Linked DNA regions of Homo sapiens: all the other regions are linked to region 1. Evidence: promoter capture Hi-C in human tissues and cell types (Jung and others, 2019). All regions are on one chromosome and are shown on one strand. Each heading gives the region's core, a stretch centred on a gene start or on the middle of the fragment in contact. The rest is flanking DNA. Distances are from core to core; before and after follow the strand shown. Region 1 holds the start of CAPS (calcyphosine). Region 2 overlaps RFX2 (regulatory factor X2). Region 3 overlaps RFX2 (regulatory factor X2).

Evidence for each region. The method cuts DNA at HindIII sites, captures the fragments that hold promoters and counts their contacts. A contact is called where the count stands out against the background at its distance.
Region 2: a contact is called between a fragment that was not itself captured here and the fragment with the promoter of CAPS in region 1, in 1 of the 25 tissues and cell types used here (liver).
Region 3: a contact is called between a fragment that was not itself captured here and the fragment with the promoter of CAPS in region 1, in 4 of the 25 tissues and cell types used here (H1 embryonic stem cells, IMR-90 fibroblasts, lymphoblastoid cells and 1 more).

What each region holds. Positions count from the first base shown.
Region 1 is chr19:5,911,374-5,915,580 of GRCh38, forward strand. It overlaps CAPS (calcyphosine), which reads left to right and starts at 2,881. Exons shown (of 5, transcript NM_004058.5): 1 at 2,881-2,936; 2 at 3,012-3,116; 3 at 3,190-3,367; 4 at 3,567-3,773; 5 at 3,848-4,207. The coding sequence starts at 3,034. The coding sequence ends at 3,949. The HindIII fragment of the contact is 10,666 bases long and covers 1-4,207 here.
Region 2 is chr19:6,042,094-6,046,398 of GRCh38, forward strand. RFX2 (regulatory factor X2) reads right to left here. Exons shown (of 18, transcript NM_000635.4): 3 at 2,100-2,189; 4 at 1-30. Among named protein-coding and RNA genes, the nearest start is that of RFX2-AS1, 18 kb to the right of the region's middle. The HindIII fragment of the contact is 4,983 bases long and covers 1-4,305 here.
Region 3 is chr19:6,074,394-6,079,065 of GRCh38, forward strand. The region is part of intron 1 of RFX2 (regulatory factor X2); the gene reads right to left. It overlaps RFX2-AS1 (RFX2 antisense RNA 1), which reads left to right. Exons shown (of 2, transcript NR_199041.1): 2 at 2,627-2,731. Among named protein-coding and RNA genes, the nearest start is that of RFX2-AS1, 14 kb to the left of the region's middle. RefSeq lists enhancers at 1-767, 1-156. The HindIII fragment of the contact is 7,886 bases long and covers 1-4,672 here.

The sequences.
Region 1 (4,207 bases), core at 1,631-4,130:
CCAAGAAATTCTTACTAAACATTTACAAATGAGATGCCAAAACAGCACTTCAGTAATAGTGGTTATATTTTATAGTTCTCTACACAGAAAAAAAAATGCTGCTTGTAACACTCATAGACATGAAAGTATTTCTCTGCCTATTTAAATAATTCTGGATTGCAGTGAGCCACCAGGATTTTGGCAGCCAGATGTCACCATGATTTCTCATAAAACTGATGATGTTACATCAGTGGTGGCCTGAATCAAGATGCTGGGATGCCTGTAACCTACAGATTGGTTTCAGACTCCAAAGGCAACTTTTTTTTTTTTTTTTTTTTGAGACGGAGTCTGGCTCTGCCACCCTGCCACCCAGGCTGAAGTACAGTGGTGTGATCTAGGCTCACTGCAACCTCTGCCTCCAGGGTTCAAGTGATTCTCCTGCCTTGGCCTCCTGAGTAGCTGGGATTACAGGCATGCACCACCATGCCCAGCTATTTATTTTTTTTAGTAGAGATGGGGTTTCAAAATGTTGGCCAGGCTGGTCTTGAACTCCTGACCTCAAGTGATCCGCCCACCTCAGCCTCCCAAAGTGCTGGGATTACAGCTGTGAGCCACCGCGCCCAGCCCTGGCCTCTTTTTTTAAGTTATTTATTTATTTTTGAGACAGAGTCTCACTCTGTCGCCCAGGCTGTGGTGCAGTGGCATGGTCTTGGTTCACTGCAACCTCTGCCTCCTGGGTTCAAGTGATTCTCCTGCCTCAGCCTCTGGAGTAGGTGGGATTACAGGCACCCGCCACCATACCTGGCTAATTTTCTTTTTTTTTTTTTGAGACAAAGTCTTGCTCTTGTCCCCCAGTCTGGAGTGCAATGGCACGATCTCGGCTCACTGCAACCTCCGCTTCCCAGGTTCATGCAATTCTCCTGCCTCAGCCTCCCGAGTAGCTGGGATTACAGGCACATACCACCACGCCCAGCTAGTTTTTCGTATTTTAAGTAGAGACAGGGTTTCACCATGTTGGCCAGGCTGGTCTCAAACTCCTGACCTCAGGTGATCTGTCTGCCTCGGCCTCCCAAAGTGCTGTGATTACAGGCATGAGCCACCGCACCCGGCTGACTAATTTTTGTATTTATAGTAGAGACAGGGTTTCACCATGTTGGCCAGGCTGGTCTCGAACTGCTGACCTCATGATCTGCCCGCCTCGGCCTCCCAAAGTGCTGGGATTACAGGCGTGAGCCACCGTGCCCGGCCAGTTTATTTACTTATTTTTAAGAGGCGGGCGTCTTGCTCTGTAACCCAGGCTGGAGTGCAGTGGTGCGATCATAGCTCACTGCAGCCTCCAACTCCCGGGCTCAAGTGATCCTCCTGCCTCAGCCTTCCAAGTAGGTGGGATTACAGGAACACACCACCATGCCTGGCTAATTTTTTGTAGTTTTTGTAGAGATGGGGGGGTCTCACTATGTTGCACAGGCGGGTCTCAAACTCCTGGGCTCAAGTGATCTTCCTGCCCTGGCTTCCCAAAGTGTTGGGATTACAGGCATGAGCCACCGCGCTCAGGCAAGGCAACTTCTGACAATATAATTGTGCTGTGAGCGAGGTAAAGCCAGGCTTGGAGAAGGCTCCGATTGATGATCCTTGGGTCGGGGCGAACAGTGGGTCCTCAAACAGGGCCCACGTTTCAAGTCCTGGAAAACCCACCTATCTTAGCGGGCAGGTATATCCGATGTCTCCGTTGAAGGCCTTCAGTGAGGTGGCTTCGTCTCTTGAGGTTTATGTCCAGGATCAGGGCTGCTCTTCCACTCGGGGTCACAACCTCTGGCTCACCACCTTGTCAGGAGCCAGCCCACTAAGTCACGTTTCAGGCCTGAAAACCAACAACAAAAGATCCGTAAAGACAGAAATCCTGGGACTGGCTCCTAACAACGGCCAGTGACAAGCTTTGTGGCAGTGAGCAGAGGTGTCCCTCAGGCTCAGCTCAGTCTCTGTGGGTTGCAGGACCTGCCCTTGGAGGTGGGCCTGGGTGGGAGGTCTTAGGGCCCCAGGACCTGGGCCACCTGGGGCTTTTTTTTTTTTTTTCTTTTTGAGATGGAGTCTTGCTCTGTCGCCCAGACTGGAGTGCAGTGGTGCAATCTTGGCTCACTGCAAGCTCCACCTCCTGGGTTCAAGCGATTCTCCTGCCTCAGCTTCCTAAGTAGCTCGGATTACAGGCGCCCACCATCATGCACGGCTAATTTTTGTATTTTTAGTAGAGGCGGGGTTTCACCATGTTGGTCAGGCTGGTCTCAAACTCCTCACCTTGTGATCTGCCCACCTCGGCCTCCCAAAGTGCTGGGATTACAGGCATGAGCCACCGCGCCCAGCCCACCTGGGGCATTTTTGTTGCTGTACAATAGAAACAAGTTCTCTATATGTTCCCCAGGCTGGTCCAAACTCCTGGGCTCAAGTGATCCTCCCACCTAGACCTCCCAAAGTGCTGGGATTTCAGGCATGAGCCGCAGTGGCCGGTCAGAACCTGGGGCCCTTTTGAACTTTGATTCCTCAGCAATTTTGTCAGCCCTGGCTCGGGCTGAGAAGCCCCTGTGAAGCCAGAGAGGGAAAGGGACCTGTCCAGGGTCACACAGGAATCATGCGTCAAGCCTCCCCAGCCACGGACTTGTCTCCATCCAGGGCATTTCAGCCCCTGCAGGGCAGTGGCCTGCCCCTCCTCCTTGGAGCCAGGAAGGGATGCAGTGCCACAGGGATCTGGCTCTGTCCCAGGCCCTGTGGGGCTGGCAGTTGAGTAAGCAGTCAGGCTGGGCGCACCCATCCCTCCCCCACTCCCCACTGCCCAGCACAGTGCATTCATGCAGCTGGGCCCCACCCCATCTCCAGAGGCACCTTCCACTAGCAACAGTCTCCCCAGGCACAACACAGCTAACACAAGGCCCCGCAGGCAGGACTCTGGGACAGACGCAGGCCAGGTGAGCATCTGAACAAGGGGCAGTCGGCCAGGGTGGGCTTGCGGGAGTCCCCACCTTGACCTCTCTCCCTTCCAGCTGCCCAGAGCCCAGACCAAGCATGGACGCCGTGGATGCCACCATGGAGAAACTCCGGGCACAGTGCCTGTCCCGCGGGGCCTCGGGCATCCAGGGCCTGGCCAGGTGAGCTGTCCCCTCTCACCTTCCTGACCCCGGCCCCTGAGACCACTGTTCCAACCGTGTCCCCTGCCTCCAGGTTTTTCCGCCAACTAGACCGGGACGGGAGCAGATCCCTGGACGCTGATGAGTTCCGGCAGGGTCTGGCCAAACTCGGGCTGGTGCTGGACCAGGCGGAGGCAGAGGGTGTGTGCAGGAAGTGGGACCGCAATGGCAGCGGGACGCTGGATCTGGAGGAGTTCCTTCGGGCGCTGCGGGTGAGCCCCCACCTCACAGTCAAGGCGTGTGCCCTGGGCATGGGGCGACAGAGGATGCTGAGATGCGGAGACGGGGACTCCTCCCTAAGAGCTGCTGTTAAGAGGCGCCTGCTGGGGCATACAGCCCCAGTGCTCTGCACAGCGTCTTGGGGGTTTGGGTGTGCTACCCACCACCCCCAGTCACCACCTCCTGTCCCAGCCCCCCATGTCCCAGGCCCGGGAGGCTGTCATCGCAGCTGCATTTGCCAAGCTGGACCGCAGTGGGGACGGCGTCGTGACGGTGGACGACCTCCGCGGGGTGTACAGTGGCCGTGCCCACCCCAAGGTGCGCAGTGGGGAGTGGACCGAGGACGAGGTGCTGCGCCGCTTCCTGGACAACTTCGACTCCTCTGAGAAGGACGGGCAGGTGGGTGGCTGCGCGGGGGGCCCCCTCCCCAGGCAGTTCCTCGGCCGTGCCCCCTCACGGCCCTCTGTTCCCAGGTCACACTGGCGGAATTCCAGGACTACTACAGCGGCGTGAGTGCCTCCATGAACACGGATGAGGAGTTCGTGGCCATGATGACCAGTGCCTGGCAGCTGTGAGCAGCTCCGGCTCAGCCCTGCTGCCCTGGCCTGTCACTCCCCACCCCTGCCGGAGACCTCCCTTCCCTGGGCCCCTTCTCTCCTGGGCAGCCACACCACAGAGCGGGGAGGGGCAGGTGGGGGAATGGAGGCTGCAGGACTGGCTAGACCAGGTCCCTGCCGGTCCACCAGGCGGAGGTGGGACAAAGGTCCTAACAGGAGTCACTGGCTCAGGACCCCAGGGAGAAACGCTCTCCCCACCCACGCCATGCTGACCAG
Region 2 (4,305 bases), core at 570-3,069, 130 kb after region 1:
GGCAGGATACACGTGCTGCACCGGCTGCACCTGAAACATCGGATACGCTGCGTTACCGCCAGTCACGCCCTCGTGAGTTGCCTGCAGATTATTCAAGCTAGACGTGTCTTCTATTGCCTTTATGAACATTTAGTACCAAATGACAATGTTCCCGCCCACAGTCGGCACGCCTAGAAAGACACTGAGGAGACAGTAATGTACAGACGACATATTCCAAACGGGCCCACACAGTTCAGGGAGCTGCGACTGATCCCCAGAGCTCTGCTAGCGTGTCTGTGCGCCCTGGCTCCTCTGTATACGTGGGGGCGGGACCAGGAGAATGACAACGCTCCTCCAGTGCAGTGGAAACTAGAGTTGTGGACAGAGGCCCAGCCTTGGCTCACAGGACTGTCCCTGGTTTCTGTTTTTTTTTTTTGTTTGTTTGTTTGTTTTTTTGCGACAGGGTCTCCCTCTGTAGCTCAAGCTGGCGTGCAGGCTGCAGTGCACAGGGGGCTGAGCAGATTAGACTCTACATGGCCCCAACACCCCCCGTGGGTGGCCCTGGTGCCCCTTCCCTGGCAGAGAGGAGGGGAGAGAATGTGATGGTCTGAACAGAGTGGGAAGGAGCGGCATGCCTGGAGAGATGGGGCAATGGGGGGACCCCAGCACACCCCCGCTGCCCTGCCCTCCCCTCTCTGAAACATCAGTTCAGAGCCTCGGCTGACAGGCCCCGAGGGACTCTAGTCCGAGCAGTGGAAGCCAAACGCTTTGCACATGGGACTTCAAACTCTCACCCCAGAGGGCATCTTAGTGGCTGTCTACATCCACTGAATTTTGGGGTGAGAAGATGGAGGGCCACAGAAGTGGGCTTGTTCGGGTGTCATGGTGTCATGGTGACCTTCCTCTTGTGCTTGAAGCTGCAGGATGGGGCTGACCTGCCCCTCCTTGGACCACTGAGCATGGTATGCACTTGTCCAACGCACCACCCCCAGAATCACAAGTTCCAGGGGTTAACATCTGTTGGGTGATGCCCCAGGGGTGGAAGTCAAATGTCGAATTCTGGGGTCCAAGTGAAATGCAGAAGTTACAGAAAGAGCTGGGGCAGGCCCAGCACCAGAAAAGTGGTGGAAGCTTCTGGAATCTCCTCTCCTTGGTGTCTCTGGGGAGTGCCTTGACAGACAGCAGCTAAGACAGAGCCACTGGCCTGAGGCCCTGCGTCCCCGCTGGGCCTGTCTGGAGCCTTTTCCTTCCTGTGATCCTGCAAACCTTCCTAGTTCTCATGGACACAGTCACCTGACAAATGCCTGTGAACAGACTGCCAATCTAGGCAGGACCCTCCTGAAGAGCGGTGCATTCTCTAGGGCCTCAGGGCTCCTTTTAGGGAGGAGCCTGAGTTAACTTTAATTCAGGATTCTGCAGGGCACAGTTGGCAAACTCCGGCCCTGAGGGCCAAATCTGGCCCACTGCCTGTTTTTGTAAATAAAGTTTTATTGGCACACAGCCACACCCATTTGGTTGCATATCATTTATGGCTGCTTTTGCGATACAATGGCAGAATTGAGTGGTTGTTCCAGAGACTGCCTGGACCACAAACCCCCAAAAATGTATAATTTGGCCTTTTCTGGAAACAGTTTGCTAACCATGCTTCTAGAGTGTCCCCAAGCTGATGATCTGTGTTGCTACTTGGCTGGTCAGCCGTGCTTTCAAACTTTGTTCTTAGATAATTGAAATCATAAGAAGCATTTCCTCTGTTGTGCCCGCATCTGAGGGTATGGCACTCACTAGCAGATGGTTCCTCCAGTCCAGAGCCCTTTGTTTCTGTCTGCATTTCTACCTGAGCTCCACCCAGCAGGTGCGGGGTGCTCACTGGTTCCCCAAATGCTTGCTGAATTTCTGAATGAACGAAAGATCACCAGCTTTCTTGGCTTTCTGCAAAACTATCTGCAGTAAATGATTTTTTTAAAATTGCACAGCTTCTGGAAAAGTCTTTTGGCTAAGAAACTGAAGCTTACAACAAGGAACAGCAGCCACAGAAAAGGATGCATCCTTCAGAGATTGTTCTGGATTGCTGAGTGCTAACTGCGCCCCGGTTTGCACGGTGCTGCGGTGCTTGTCATTACCTGCTGGGGTACCTGCTGAACTCTGGGGAGGGAGATCGGCTGCATCTGGGCCCCTTTGGGATTGGAGCTGGCTGCCTGGACCAACACCCTCTAAAAGGGAAGGGAGAGAAGGCCAGTTAGACTTGTCAGAGGTCAGTGCTGAGGATACACACAGAATGTAAGATGCTGTTTGTCTGTTCATGTGCTTTTTATTAAAACATAGGCAGGACTGATCAGAGGCGACGGCGGGGTGATGGTCAGACTTGCACACTCACACCGACCTGGGCAGACACACGGCAGGTACGTGCAGGCACACAAACAATGCACATACATACACAAGTGTGCACATACACTCAGCCCATGCACCACACATATGCACGAATTGTGGGCACACACACACGTATGCACACACACATACACGGAAGCACATGCACCTTCACCCGCCCAGGCAGCTTTGCCTCTGTGGGTCTGTAGTCTGCAGCAAGGTGACACTGATCGTCCCTAGTACAGAGGGGACTGCTGGGGCCCTCTGGATAGCCATCCGCACCACTGCGTGGGAGAGCACTCTGTGGCGCCCCTCGCTTCTGCAGTATAACCCGGACTTGTTTCCATTTTCTGATGAGGTTAATGAAGCCAGAGGGCTCAAGTGCTGCCTCTGGCTACAGAATACTCGAGTCCAGGTGCCCTGTGTCTGGGTCCCTCGCTCTCTGACCCCACTGCTCTCCAGCCTCCTAAGTCAAATCTGCACAGTGTGGCTTTGCTATTTTTCTGGGAGTACCGATTGGCCACACAAAGCTATCAAAATGGGAAGGGTCAAAGTGAACTCGAGTCGAGGGAGGAACAGGAGTGTTTTGTGTGTTTATTGAGAGCTGGGGCTTTCGGAGTCATTGGCTGCAGTGCTGTGATTTCCCGGCATGAACCCTGAATGTCACAGGTAGCAGTGACTGCCATATATACATCACGAGGGGTGATGGGTGAGGACACGCCATCCCCTGTGTTGCAGGAGTGGAGCTAAGGATGAAGATGGTGCTAATAAGGATGCCAGCGCAAGGGCATTCTGATTCCAGGTGAGCTGGGCGCCGTGTGCTTGGAGAATTCACAGGGTCCTGGCAAGTCCTCAGAGAGGGACCACAGTGATGAAACCTGGGACACACATGGTGGCCGTGAGTGGCACTGAGACCTGTCCATGGTGGCTGCTGCAGAGGAAGGCAGAGTCCACCTAGGCCTGGGAGAGCCTGAGAGAGGGGCTTGGCAGGAAGACCTGAGGGCTGACTCCTCTTGGACAATTTCAAGTGGGCACGGAAACATATCAATTAGGCCACAACTGCTGGCAGGGCGACGGCGTCTGATCCTCACCTCAGATGGGCTTCCAAGACGCCCTCCCCACTGCCATATGTGCAAGAAATAAAAGCTAAAGATGTCTGACCATACACACTACATCAAATAAACCGCTTCACTGTCTGCCTTTTTGTTTTTGCGGAATTGTGTTTTTTTGTTTTTGTTTTTTTGTGTTTTTTGGGACGGATTTTTGCTCTTGTCGCCCAGGCTGAAGTGCGATGGCACGATCTCGGCTCACTATAACCTCTGCCTCCTGGGTTCAAGCGATTCTCCTGCCTCAGCTTCCCGAGTAGCTGGGATTACAAGCATGTGCCACAATGCTCGGCTAATTTATTATTATTATTATTTTTTGTATTTAGTAGACACAGGGTTTCACCATGTTACTCAGACTGGTCTCAAACTCCTGACCTCAGGTGATCCACCCACCTTGGCCTCCCAAAGTGCTGGGATTACAGGCATGTGCCACCATGCCTGGCCCTGAATTGTGTGTTTTAAAACCATAATCATTTCTTTTTGCTGTGCTCCTAACTTTTAGATTCCAGATCGAGGTGGTCACACGGCCACAGTGGACCTCTGCACACTGTGATGAGCCTCCAGCCTGTTTCATGTGGCCGGTGCCATTCGCTTTGTATTTCTGTCTTCTTTATGGCTTATTTCATTCCACGGTAGAAATCCAGGAGCAGAGAAAGCCTGAATGTGAAAATTCTCTCTCTGCGAATTTTAAAGAATATGTTCATTCAGGTGCTAGATTCTATTTTGAACAAAATCTTAAGAATTCTAACTCATCTAGGCTGGGCGTGGTGGCTCACGCCTGTAATCCCAGCACTTTGGGAGGCTGAGGCGGGCAGATCACCTGAGGTCAGGAGTTCGAGACCAGCCTGGCCAACAT
Region 3 (4,672 bases), core at 1,058-3,557, 160 kb after region 1:
CGGTGCATCTCCTCACCCCACACAGTGCCCTGGGTACAGGGGCTGGGGCTTGAAGGGTGCCCATAACACACTCCCTCAGAGCCTGGACACTCAGCCATCGTTCATTCATTCAACAAACACAGTCTGAGCATCTGCCATGTGCCGGCTTCAAGTGCTGAGGACACAGCAGGGAATGAAACAGATTGAGTCCCTGACCATGTGGGGCTGACCCCTCAGGGAGAGACAGACGACACCATGGACACAGAACAGCAGGAGGTGACAAATGCTCTGAAGAAAAATACACTCAAATGCACAAGTGGAGTGCGGCATGGGCCAGGGGCAACAAGGTGACCTGGGGCAGTGACAGGACAGAGGCAGAGTGAGGTGAGGAAAGTGTCGCCGCTGAGAAGGCTCTGCCAGGGATGGTGCTCGGCAAGGCTGAGGCACACGGGACATGTGGGGTCACACGGGTCACGTGAGGAGGCCACCAGAGGGAGCTGGGGGAATGCTGGGGGTTGAATGTTGTGTCCCCTTAAATTCCTATGCTGAACTCCTCACCCCAAGGCAGTAGCTTTAGGAGGTGGGGCCTTTGGGAGGTGATTAGGTCATGAGGGTGGGATCATGCCCTCCCTTATGGAAGGGACCCCAGAGAGCTCTCTCTGGCTTCCCACCATGTGATGTGAGGACACAGCAAGAAGACAGCCATCTGCATCCCAGAGGGAAGCCCTCACCAGAACCTGACCCTGCTGGCACCCTCTTCTCAGACTTCCCACCTCCAGGGCTGAGAGATGTGTGTCTGTTGTTTACAGCCACCCAGTCTATGGCCTTTTGCTGAAACAGCCCAAACAGATTAAGACAGGAGGAGAAGGAGGAAGAGGAGAAAGAAGAGGAGGAGAAGGTGGAGGAGGAGGAGGAGGAGGAGGAGAAGATGGACTTAGAGACACAAGGAGGCCACAGTGGAGTGTTTGGCTTTCGCTCTGAGTGTGCTGGGAAGCTACTGGAAGGTTTAGGGCACAGGGACACAATCTGACAGATATTTTGGAAGTATCAACGGTCAATGGAAGCAAACGTCAGGGCTGGACAACCAGGTCAGAGGTGACAAAGACTTACGTGATAGCAGTGCTCTCATTTGGGAGACACCTGAAGACAGAGCCAGCCAGGTTTGCTGACGGGTTTGACATAAAGGGTGAAAGAAAGAGAGGAGTCGAGGCTGACTTAAGGCTTGGGGCTGGCCTGAGCACCTAGAGAATGGAGCTGCCCGGTGCTGAGCTGGGGAAGCCCGTGGTCTGGGGAGAGACAAGTGTGAGGTCGAATCAGGCACCCAGTTTTGGGTGACAGAAGCCTCAGATGCCCATCAGATGACACCCACATGCAGCTGCCACCTAGGCAGCTAGGTACACAAGTCCAGGATTCGGGGAGTGAGCCAGGCTGCAGACACTAGGACACTGGAGGTTCTAAGATGCATTTCAACTCTTGTACCTCGGTGAGATCACCAGGAAAGCAGGTGTAGATAAAGCAGAAAAGAGGTCCCTTCTCAAGTTCAAAGGTCATGAACAGTTGGAGGATCTGGCATAGGGGACAGAGGAGAGGAAGAAAGCAGAGGGAATATCGAGCTCTGAAATACACAGCGTCACCCCTTTACTTGGCTTTCGGAGCTTGGTGTTCACAAAAAATTAGAAACGAGGTTGGGGGCGGTGGCTCATGCCTGTAATCCCAGCACATTTTGGGAGGCCAAGGTGGGCAGATCACTTGAGGTCATGAGTTCGAGAGCAGCCTGGCCAACATGGCGAAACCCCATCTCTACTAAAAAATAATACAAAAATTAGCCATGCGTGGTGGTGCATGCCTGTAATCCCAGCTACTTGGGAGGCTGAGGCAGGAGAATCGCCTGAACCCGGGAGGCTGAGGTTGCAGTGAGCCGAGATGGTGCCACTGTACTCCAGCCTGGGTGACAGAGAGAGACTCTGTCTCAAAATAAATAAATACATAAATAAGAAACAAACGTTCATCAACTGGAATACCATTAACTACCTTACGGTGCATCCTAGCTCTAAAACAGGAGGCTAGGCGAGGGTGCCTGGGTCCGGTGCCTGGGTCCAGTTCCTGGGTCCTCCAGTTTCTAGCTGGGTGACCTCAGCCAGGGACTTAAATCTTTCTGCACTTCCATTTCTTTGTCCATAAACGGAGAAAATACTTCTATCTGTGTTGGGTGGTTGTGTTAAATGAGAGGAGTCCTACAAAGTGTGGAGTTTAATGGCCAGCCCAGCACACGGAAAATGCCCATAAATGTTCATTAGCGTCATCGTTGTAATTCACACCATTATAACGTAACCCACATAATTTACTGATTTTTTGCAGATTTAAATATCTGAAACTAAAAGCAGTTATGCTGTTTGCTATTTGTGATTTCAAAAACTCTTCGCTATTTGTGATGTTGCTAAGCCCTTTAGGGAGTGCCTCCTGCTATGAGCTATATTCATTCCAGGGCATATTTGTGGGGTTTGTCATTTTAACCAAGTACTTAATACTTGTTTCTCTCCCAGCATCTTGCCAAATGTGGCAGCTCTCCTTCTAGATGAACACTACTGCATTACTGTTATAGAAATGATATTTTAACATCAACTCCCTTTTCCCTTTTCTTCCCTAGAAATCCAGTCCTTCCATGAGACCTCGGTACACACAGAACTCCTCCTACCACGTGCAACCTTATTCTCGGCTGAGCAACTCATAAATCGCATAACAAAAACAGTGATTGATGCGGACTGTGTTTAGTGCCATCCTTGCCGGTGAGAGGGAGTGAGCCAGCAAGCTTCCTTAAATCTCTTTAGTTCTCCAAAAGGAGAGGCCATTTGCCTTCTCATCTATGCCGCAAGTTTCTGGGGCTTGCATCATTAACCTGGTGGCTTTGCCAATTCCTTCGCCAGTGCTGGGTCAAAGACAGGCAAGGGCACCAGGGTTAGCCATGAGTGTGTGCCAGGGGCTGAATGCAAAACCCGGGAGCACTGGTGGCTGGGGCAGGTGGGCTGGGCTCTGCCACTGCCTCCCCCAGCCCACCCAAGAGGGGCGTGTGCCTCTGCAGGAAATGGCCTCCAAGCATTTCTCAAGACTTACGAGATGTTCAAACCTACACAGTCAGAGACAAAGAGCTAGCTATAAGTGGGGTCTTTTTCCCCTCCTCAAAATTCATCCTGCAGAAGTAGACATGTGCTAAACAGTGCATGGCCACACAAATGCTTGGATACCAATGTTCACAGCAGCGTTGTCCTAATGGCCCCAAAGTAGCAACAGCCCAAATGTTTGTCAACTGATGGATGGATAAACGAAGGCGGCCGGGCGCGGTGGCTCACACCTGTAATCCCAGCACTTTGGGAGGCTGAGGCGGGTGGATCACCTGAGGTCAGGAGTTTGAGACCAGCCTGACCAACATGGAGAAACCCTGTCTCTATTAAAATACAAAATTAGCCGGGCGTGGTGGCACATGCCTGTAATCCCAGCTACTTGGGAGGCTGAGGCAGGAGAATCGCTTGAACCCGGGAGGCGGAGGTTGCAGTGAGCCAAGATCGCGCCATTGCACTCCAGCCTGGGCAACAAGAGCAAAATTCCATCTCAAAAAAAAAAAAAAAAAAAAGGAACGAGGCACTGGCACATGCTGTAAACGGATGGACAGTGGACCCTGAAAACATTATGTTACGTGGAAGAAGCCAGTCACAAAAGGCCACATAGTGTGTGATTCTGTTTATATGAAAGGTTCAAAACAGGCAAATCCACAGAGACAGAAAGTGGATTCACAGTTGCCCGGGGCTGGGAGGAGGAAGGGCAAGTGGCTGTTCATGGCAGGTTCAGGGTTTCTTCTTCTTTTCGGAGTGATGAAAATGTTCTGTGAAGATAGTATACTAAGACCCACTGAACCATACACTTCAAATGGGTGAGCTTTACGGTATGTAAAACAGATCTCAGCACAGCTGTAAAAAAAAAAAAAAAAAAGGTATATTGACGACCTGTCCCCAGTGGCATTAGTTTAAGTCATAAAAATTTAGAAACAAATGTTCATCAACAGGAAAATCATTAAGTACCTTATGGTGCATCCTAGCTCTAAAACTATGCTGCCATTAAAAAGAAGAGGTACCGTCTCCAAGAAAGAAAGCCAACATCTGCAGTGCCTGGCACACAGTAGGCTCTCAAATATTTGCAGAATAAATTTATGTTGAAAAAACCCCAGCTATACATACTATAAAATAGGTAAAGGGGCCTTAAAAAGATCTAGAAGGACACAAGTTATATGACTAACAGTGCTTACCTCATATGAGGTGGGATAGACAGAAAGACGAAAAGAGAAATTTTCATTTCTGAATCTCCTGCTGTAGATGGTGGTCCTTCCCAGGAGAATGTTACTTGTATTACTTGCATATCATTTTATTTTTTGAGATGGAATCTTGCTCTGTCTCCCAGGCTGGGGTGCAGTGCACAATCTCAGCTCACTGCAACCTCCACCTCCCGGGTTCAAACTATTCTAGTGCCTCAGCCTCCCAAGTAGCTGGGATTACAGGCACATGCCACCATGCCCAGCTAATTTTTGTATTTTTAGTAGAGACGGGGTTTCACCATGTTGGCCAGGCTGGTCTCGAACTCCTGACCTCAAGAGAGCCACCTGCCTCGGCCTCCCAAAGTGCTGGAATTATAGGCGTGAGCCACG